Regions from separate parts of the Homo sapiens genome. Here region 1 is linked to region 2. The links are contacts of gene promoters, found by promoter capture Hi-C in blood cells and fetal thymus (Javierre and others, 2016). All regions are on one chromosome and are shown on one strand. Each heading gives the region's core, a stretch centred on a gene start or on the middle of the fragment in contact. The rest is flanking DNA. Distances are from core to core; before and after follow the strand shown.

What was found. The method cuts DNA at HindIII sites, captures the fragments that hold promoters and counts their contacts. A CHiCAGO score of 5 or more calls a contact.
Region 1: a contact is called between the fragment with the promoter of CERS6 here and the fragment with the promoter of FASTKD1 in region 2, in 10 of 17 cell types (naive CD8 T cells, activated CD4 T cells, erythroblasts and 7 more). The highest score is 14.9, in naive CD8 T cells.

The regions. Positions count from the first base shown.
Region 1 is chr2:168,453,459-168,458,005 of GRCh38, forward strand. CERS6 (ceramide synthase 6) reads left to right here and starts at 2,814. Exons shown (of 10, transcript NM_203463.3): 1 at 2,814-3,160. The coding sequence starts at 2,991. It overlaps LOC102724081 (a long non-coding RNA gene), which reads right to left. Exons shown (of 4, transcript XR_002959433.2): 1 at 3,573-4,547. RefSeq lists silencers at 2,406-2,625, 2,656-2,745, 2,866-2,995, 3,446-3,505. The HindIII fragment of the contact is 1,842 bases long and covers 2,418-4,259 here.
Region 2 is chr2:169,572,282-169,576,615 of GRCh38, forward strand. It overlaps FASTKD1 (FAST kinase domains 1), which reads right to left and starts at 1,584. Exons shown (of 15, transcript NM_024622.6): 1 at 1,388-1,584. RefSeq lists enhancers at 1,166-1,335, 1,191-1,793, 1,696-1,795. The HindIII fragment of the contact is 12,279 bases long and covers 1-4,334 here.

The DNA of each region.
Region 1 (4,547 bases), core at 1,564-4,063, 1.1 Mb before region 2:
AAGATATAGGTACAATATATCTTGTGTTGACGGTGGTAAGTGTCTTGGAGAAAAACAAAGCAAGATAGGAAGAGTGGTGGTGGGGATTGAGGGATGTAGATTAACTAGGGTGGCCAGGGAAGGCTTCAGGGAGAAAATGACATCAGTACAGAGCAAACATGGATGTTCGTGTAAAAAGAGTTCCAGGGACAGAGAAGAGCAAGCACAAAGGCTCTAAGACATAGCTGGTGTGTCCCAGTAAGGGCAGGGTGGCCAGTGTGGACTCAGGCAGAGTGAAGGAGAGAGAAGAGTAAATAAGTCAGAGTTAATACGGAACCAAATATCACAGGTCATTGGAATAATTTGGCTTTCACTTGGGAGGGATGAGGAAGAAGCAGGGTTTTCACCCCAGGGGTGATCTGACAAATTTGCATAGGATCACACTGGCTGAGAATAGACTGTAGAGGGGCAAAGGGTGAAACTGGGAGTTGGGAGGTTACTGGAGTAATGTGAATTAGAAGTATTGGTTGTTTGGACCAAGATGGTAGCAGGGGAGGTGGTGAGAGATGGTGAGATTATGGTTTTAAAATGGTGCTGATGGGATTTGGGATGGATTGGAAAGGAGGTATGAGAGAAAGAGAGAAGGGGAAAAAATGACTCCACATTTTTGGCTTGAGCCAAGACTACAGGAGGAAGAGATTTCAAGGGGAAGATTAATAGTTTGGTCATGAGATAGCTTTTAGACATCTGAGTGGTGGTGTTAAATTGCCAGTGGATTTAAGAGTCAGAAGGTCAGGAAAAAGTTCATGGCTAGAGATATAAATATGGGAGCTATTAGCATGACATTGGAGGGCATACAGATGTCATTAAAAGCCACGAGACTGGATAAAATCACCAAATGAATACATTCAGATAGAAAAGTGAAGAGGAAAAAAGACTGACTCCTAGGCCACTATAACTTCTAGGGGTTAGAAAAGTGAGGAGTAACCAGGAAGGAGACTGAGAAGAAATGGCCATGAAGGAGGAAGAAACCCAGAAGAGTGAGGTTTCTGGAAGCCAAGTCAAGAATGTTTTAAGACACACGACCTGACAACTGGGCCAAATGCTACTGACAGAGGTGTTGTGAACTGCTATGAACTGAATGTGTGTGTCCCCCAAAATTCATATGCTGAAATCCTAGTTCCCAATGTGATAGTATTCAGAGACAGAGTCTTTGGGAGGTAATTAGCTAATGAGGGTAGAACCTTCATGAATGGGATTAGTGCCCTTATAAGAAGATAGGGCACTAATCTGTGTTTCCTCTTTCTGTGCTCTCTGCCATGTGAGGATACACAAGAAAACAGCTGTTTTCAAACCAGGAAGAGGATCCTTGCCAGACACTGGATCTGCCTGCATGTTGATCTTGGACTTCCCTGCCTCCAGAACCGTGAGGAATAAATTCTGCTGTTTAAGCCACCTAGTCTAAGCAGCCTGGACTAAGATAAGAACTGACCTTTGTGTTTAGCAGCATGAAGATCACAGGTGACCTTGGGCAGTTTCAATGCAGCAGAGGAGACAAATGTCCAAATGGAAGTTCAAAAGAAAATGAGGGGAGAGAAATTGGAAGCACCAGTATAGGCCATTCTTCAGTTTCACTTTCAAGAGATAGAGTGGAAAGAGGGGAGGGAAGAGTAAAAGAAACTCCCTCTCTCTGTGTGTGTGTGTGTGTGTGTGTGTGCGGTTATATGCCCACTGGAAAGGTTTAGTATAGCCTACTGGCAGCACCAGGCAGAAAATGAATGTGAGAAAAATGAACAAAAATGCCCCAGAACCATGTATACATGGGCCATGGAATGAATTCACACATGGCTCCTGTATCAATGGGGAAATGCATTGCGGGAGGGAAGGTGCCTGGGTTAGGCCTCACAGGCCTAATGCCTTAAAGGTTTTAGATTCAAAAGGCAGAAATAATGAGCCTGCCGAGTAGCACAGTGGAGGTTCTCATGATGTGCCAGGTCAAAATGTGGTCTAGCAGCCTTTTCAGAGAGGTTAGTTGAGAGGGGTGGTTTTACAGAACGCTGCAGTTGCTATCATCATCATCATCATCATCATCATCGTCATCAAGTAGCAATTAATAATCAAATAGCAATTAAGTGCCTAATTTTTTGTACCACCTCATAAATCAATATAGGGGGGCTTGTTCCCTGGGGGAGCTACTTTGATGAGAAGCAGCAGTATAAAAGACCGGAAAGTCAAAGATTGGGGAAAGGCAGGCGTGGGGCAGAGGCAGAAGGCTCTTGCCAAACCATCCTGCCTCAGTTCCTGATTTTTCACCCTGCCTCTCCAAGCGCGGGAGTGGAGGATCCTTTCCCTCCCACTTCCTCCTTTGCTCTTTACCCCTCCCCCTCCCCCCCCCTTTTTTTTTTTTTGCTGTCCTCCTGGAGCAGGGCTGGTTCTGAAGCTTGGCGGCAGCCCCTACCTGCTGACCCACCGCCTCCGGGCGCACGGGAAGAGGACTGAGAGCCCTGAAACCCCAGCGGGGCAGGAGCCAGCATTCTGAGCATGTGCGAGCCAGCCAGGGGGCTAGGGCGGATTTGGGGGGTCGACTTTAGGTCGTCGCCCTAAGCGCAAAGCGAAAGAGCGGTGAGAGCAGGGGCGGGCGACACTCCCCGGAGCGGTGCCCCTGCGCCCAGGGCGCAGCGACTGCGCCCTGCCCTGCGGGTGTGGGCGAGTTGGCCGCGTGTGTGCCTCGCTGTTTGACGCGAAGACGAGCCAATCAGGGCGGGCGGCCCGAGCTGCCATGTGACGGGCAAGGCGGCCCCTTTCCCCAGCGCGGCCAGAGGGAGGAGAGAACCGGGGCTCGCCGCGAGCCTTCGAGAGCAGCGGCCGCGGAGGAGGCGGCGGCGGCGGGCGGGAGCAGCGGCGGCGGCGGCACAGGCTCGGGGCCAGCCGGGCGCGCATCCCCGGGCGCCCTGCGCGGTGGAGAGCTTGGCGGGCTGCGGGTGCCGCAGGACAGGAGTGGACAAAGCAAGATGGCAGGGATCTTAGCCTGGTTCTGGAACGAGAGGTTTTGGCTCCCGCACAATGTCACCTGGGCGGACCTGAAGAACACGGAGGAGGCCACCTTCCCGCAGGCTGAGGACCTCTATCTCGCTTTTCCCCTGGCCTTCTGTATCTTCATGGTGCGGCTCATCTTCGAGAGGTAAGAAGGGCTGAAGCCCCTCCTCCCCTCCCCCTGCGCACACACACGCGCGCACACACTCGCGCGCTCTCTGGCGCACGCCCCCGCGCCCCCAACGCTCGCGTTCACGCCTCCCAACCTTTGTGTTCGGGGAGGGGTTGCTGACCCCCCTGCCCCGCTGGCTTTCTGGGAGCCAGAAAGGGTCTGGCTTGCCACGGATTTCCTCCCGGGCGCCGGGGAGGAGCCGCGGAGCGTTAGGGTCGCCCCCTGCCCTCCTCCTGGGCCCTGCTCTCCTCCCGGCAAGGGCAGGCGAACAAAGGTGAGCGGTGGTCGGGCTCAGGACCCGCCGCATTCCGCGGGGCTCGCCCCTCTCCGCCGGCGCGCCACGCAAGGCTGCCAGGCAGGGCTTCCCGCCGGGGCCCGCGCCACCCACCTGACAGCCAGGAACGTTCCGGACGCGCGGCCCGGAGGGAGGAGGAACCGCGCACACTTCAATCTTTATGCTCCGGCACACGGATTGTAGGGGTTGTGCTTCAAAAGAATTCGCCAGGGACTTCCTGGCTTCTGGTCGCTGTTTGGTTTTTATCCGTGAAACTATCAGGCCCACAGTCCTGGCAAATAGGGGATAATAGCATTTCAGGTTATTAGCGGTTTCTTTAAAAGAGGATGTGACAGGACGGGTCCACATCCTGCAAAATGGTGATATTAAACTGATAACCCTGTCCTGTGAATAATCATAAACTTCTTTTTTGGTACTCGAAGGCACTTAAAATTTTGAGGAATTGTCATGCAATTGTATAGTTCCTCGGTTTGGTTGGATATCTCCATTGTGTCACATACAAACTTGTGTTATTCTCATGGAATTCGTTTTCGTCGCGAAACTAGATTGTGCCTGCCATGCATTCTCTGGGTGCTACTGAAAGAAAACCAGGACAGCAGCACACTTTTTTTTTCGTAACAGAAAATATTATCTTCCCCTTTCTTGTACCCTCCCCTTCCTCTGCCCAATTCATCAGTAAAGGCTGAATTTCTTAGATCACAAAGTAGAGTTTAGATTGCATTTCTCGCTTCCACTCCGCCTTTCTTCCCCGCCTTCAACTCACCTTGGTTTTGTTTCTTAAGCTTTTGCTGGTACCTCATTTGCTGTTCCTCTTTGCCTGAAAACGACTGTTGAGGGTGGCAGAACGCGTCTTTTGAGTCATTTGCTGCTGGACGAGGCAACAAAGCTTCATGGGGACAAAAAGTATCTTTTGTCTCAGGAAGGTATATTTTTCACCGGACAGTATTGTTGCTTGAAAACGAAGTCAGCTGTTCGCCTGCAGAAATTGACATGCACAAAGCAACAGACTTTAAGACCTATGTTTAAATTATTGGAATCTAATACAGATGTGTCATTGATCCTATACAA
Region 2 (4,334 bases), core at 334-2,833:
TTAGTCTAAACCAGATAGCAGAATTTGATCAAAAAATAAATGTCCAGAAAAAGGGGCTTCTTTCTGCACCCCATTTTAAAAGTGTTTTAAATCTGACATTTACATAAAGTTTTCAAATTTACCATAAAAGGAAAAAAAAAGCCCACAAACTCAGAGCTGTCTTTTCGAAAAAGAGGAAAATTGTTTAAAATAAATAATCACCTTCAAAGTTTCTAAAAAGTGTAGGCATTAATTCAGAGCCATATATATTTATACATACATATATATATACTTTTTTTTTTTAATTTTTCAGAAGTATGGTCTCAGGTTTATTTGCTTTCAGGATAATTTCTTGCCCCTTTTTCTTGTGCCCTTAAAGAGCTCAAATAATTCCTTTCTTTAGAAAATAAATAAATAAAAGAAGTCATATAATTTAATCATTACTGGCCTTGGATAGGTTTTAACCAATGAACGACACAATTAAAGCACCAATCAAGAAATACTAAGAAATTAAGTAATGTTTCAAGTCATGCTGAAACAATAAAAGAACTAAAGATAATTATGAAAAAAGAATAATTTGTTTTAAAAATATGCTATAAATGTTTACATTTATAATTGAGAAGTAATGGTTAGAAAAGCAGGGACTAAAGTCATATAATCTAATATTTCTGCAACATGTTACCATTTACAAAGAACGTTTGAAACACATTATCTCATTAAATTCTCTCAGCTAACCTTCCAGGTTGATATTATTTCCATTTTACAGATAAGGCAAAATAGGTTCAAAAAGGTTTAAAAAATCCTTCTAGTACTAGTGAAGCAGGGACTACAACTCAGTTCTTTCCACTTGAACAGCTTCATTACACAAACAAATCAACGCTGTATCACTAAATTCATGTCTCAGACCCCTCTCTACGGCTATGCCAAACAGTCTGTTCACAAGAAAAAACGACGCGACAGTACAGGCTATTTTGTGGCAAGCAGTACAGCATCCTGACCTAAGCTGACCTGGGTCACAAACCTGCACAAGAAAACCCTGCACAAATCAAAGGTATCCTCAAGATACTATATTCATCCACTGAGCTGCTCAAAGTGGAGGCAGCTCAATGGTTAGCATAGAAAGGTGTCGAGTCCCCAGCTTTGCCCCAGCTGAATGACCTTAAGGAAGGAACTTAACTACAGGAAGGGCCTTGGGACCCTAAGGGGTATCTTCTGCGCCGGGCATAAAGGAGAGCTAAACAAATGAGTGAATGAATGGGGTCTCAGCCCTGCCCTAGTCCATCCGCACTTCAGAGAACCCAATATCCCGAAGGAAGCCTCCGTATCTCAACTGAACCCTATGTCCCCAGCCCGAAAACGTGCTGGGTGGGAAAAGAAAAATAGCCGCTGCCACACAGTCCCGACTTGCCAGCAAGGTTTTCCCTCAGCGCGCCGCAAATTTTCTGGAGGATCCTGGGGTTATGAAAGCTCAGAAGTCAGGGTTATTCCTGGTCCCAACACGGAACGAAACAGGCTCGGATGTCTCGCCCAACCCTCATATCTCAGGGTTTATAACCTTTCTTCGAGAGACATGACCTTTCCCATGAGACCTTGCCCCCAAACCAGGAAAAAATGCCCGGCAGGCGCAGCGTGCACTGCGGAAGTCACGCACTACATATCCCAGGGTGGGTCGCGGCGAGGTGGGTGAAATGGACGTCGCTCACGCATTTTGGGGGAATTCTGGGCATTGTAGTTCCTCATTGAGGGAGGCTCTAGCGCAGTACACAGCTTAAGCTGTTGAAGAAGATATAGGTCGTTTAGGTGATTCTCTACTATCTAAGGTTGTTCTCCTAGTCCTTGGAAGTCTACTACTTTTATAATATACACAAAAATATACTTAGGAAAATGAAATTTAAAAATGTAAACATGGAAAAGACACGTACAGATTTTTCTTATTATTTTTTAGCATATACGAAATAACTCTGTCGAGTAACTTTGAAAGTATGCAAACTCATACTCTCAGTTTCTGCACTTATGTCGTGGATAGGTACCAGTTCTCAGACCATATTTTTTTTTTACTTACCATGGTATTTTAATAGTCCCAAGATTTGACACTTGACACTTAAAAAAAAAATACCACTAATAAATAACCAAAGTGGAATGCTTACCAAAGTTACAACAGACATAATTTTCAGCTGATAATCACTACAACAAAGTAAGGCTCTAAAGGTACCAAACTGATATTTGTTGGAATATGCTGTGCAACTTTCTTTTTTTTATTTTATTTATTTATTTTTTTTATTGATCATTCTTGGGTGTTTCTCGCAGAGGGGGATTTGGCAGGGTCGTAGGACAATAGTGGAGGGAAGGTCAGCAGATAAACAAGTGAACAAAGGTCTCTGGTTTTCCTAGGCAGAGGACCCTGCGGCCTTCTGCAGTGTTTGTGTCCCTGAGTACTTGAGATTAGGGAGTGGTGATGACTCTTAAGGAGCATGCTGCCTTCAACCATCTGTTTAACAAAGCACATCTTGCACCGCCCTTAATCCATTTAACCCTGAGTGGACACAGCACATGTTTCAGAGAGCACAGGGTTGGGGGTAAGGTCATAGATCAACAGGATAAGAATTTTTCTTAGTACAGAACAAAATGAAAAGTCTCCCATGTCTACTTCTTTCTACACAGACACAGCAACTTTCCGATTTCTCAATCTTTTCCCCACCTTTCCCCCTTTTCTATTCCATAAAACCGCCATTGTCATCATGGCCCGTTCTCAATGAGCTGTTGGGTACACCTCCCAGACGGGGTGGTGGCCGGGCAGAGGGGCTCCTCACTTCCCAGTAGGGGTGGCCGGGCAGAGGCGCCCCTCACCTCCCGGACAGGGCGGCTGGCGGGGCGGGGGGCTGACCCCCCCACCTCCCTCCCGGACGGGGCGGCTGGCCGGGCGGGGGGCTGACCCCCCCACCTCCCTCCCGGGCAGGTCGGCTGGCCGGGCGGGGGGCTGACCGCCCCCACCTCCCTCCCGGGCGGGGCGGCTGGCTGGGCGGGGAGCTGACCGCCCCCACCTCCCTCCCGGACGGGGCGGCTGGCCGGGCGGGGGGCTGACCCCCCCACCTCCCTCCCGGGCGGGGCGGCTGGCCTGGCGGGGGCTGACCCCCACCTCCCTCCCGGAGAGGGTGGCTGCCGGGTGGAGACGCTCCTCACTTCCCTGACGGGGCGGCTGCTGGGCGGAGGGGCTCCTCACTTCTCAGACGGGGCGGCTGCCGGGCGGAGGGTCTCCTCACTTCTCAGACGGGGCGGCCGGGCAGAGACGGTCCTCACTTCCCAGACGGGGTCGCGGCCGGGCAGAGGTGCTCCTCACATCCCAGACGGGGCGGTGGGGCAGAGGCGCTCCCCACATCTCAGACGATGGGCGGCTGGGCAGAGACGCTCCTCACTTCCTAGATGGGATGGCGGCCAGGCAGAGACGCTCCTCACTTCCCAAACGGGGTGGCGGCCGGGCAGAGGCTGCAATCTCGGCACTTTGGGAGGCCAAGGCAGGCGGCTGGGAGGTGGAGGTTGTAGCGAGCCGAGATCACGCCACTGCACTTCAGCCTGGGCACCATTGAGCACTGAGTGAACGAGACTCCGTCTGCAATCCCGGCACCTCGGGAGGCCAAGGCTGGCGGATCACTCGCGGTTAGGAGCTGGAGACCAGCCCCGCCAACACAGCAAAACCCCATCTCCACCAAAAAAATACGAAAACCAGTCAGGCGTGGCAGCGCGCAGGCACTTGGCAGGCTGAGGCAGGAGAATCAGGCAGGGAGGTTGCAGTGAGCCGAGATGGCAGCAGCACAGTCCAGCTTCGGCTCGGCATCAGAGGGAGACCGTGGAAAGAGAGGGAGAGGGAGACCGTGAGGGAGAGGGAGAGGGAGACCGTGGGGAGAGGGAGAGGGAGAGGGAGAGGGGGCAACTTTCTTATTGTGTGGGTTACAGAGGAGACTCTTGGTTTATGTGGTCATGGTTATTGTCATAAAACCAGTTTTAGCACAATTTTCTTTTCTTTTCTTTTTTGAGACAGGGTCTCACTCTGTCTCCCAGGTTGGAGTGCAGTAGTGCAATCTCCGCTCACTACAACCTCCGCCTCTTGGGTATAAGCGATTCTCCTGCCTCAACCTCCCGAGTAGCTGGGACTACAGGTGCACACCACCATAGCTGGCTAACTTTTTGTAGTTTTGGTAGCGACAGGGTTTCCCCACGTTGCCCAGGGTGGTCTCGAACTCCTGGGCCCAAGCAATCCACCCACCTCAGCCTCCCAAAGTGCTTGGGATTAGAGGCATGAACCACCTTGCCCAGCCTAAATTTTCAATAGTTCTGACAGTCTATGCAAAATGTTGAGG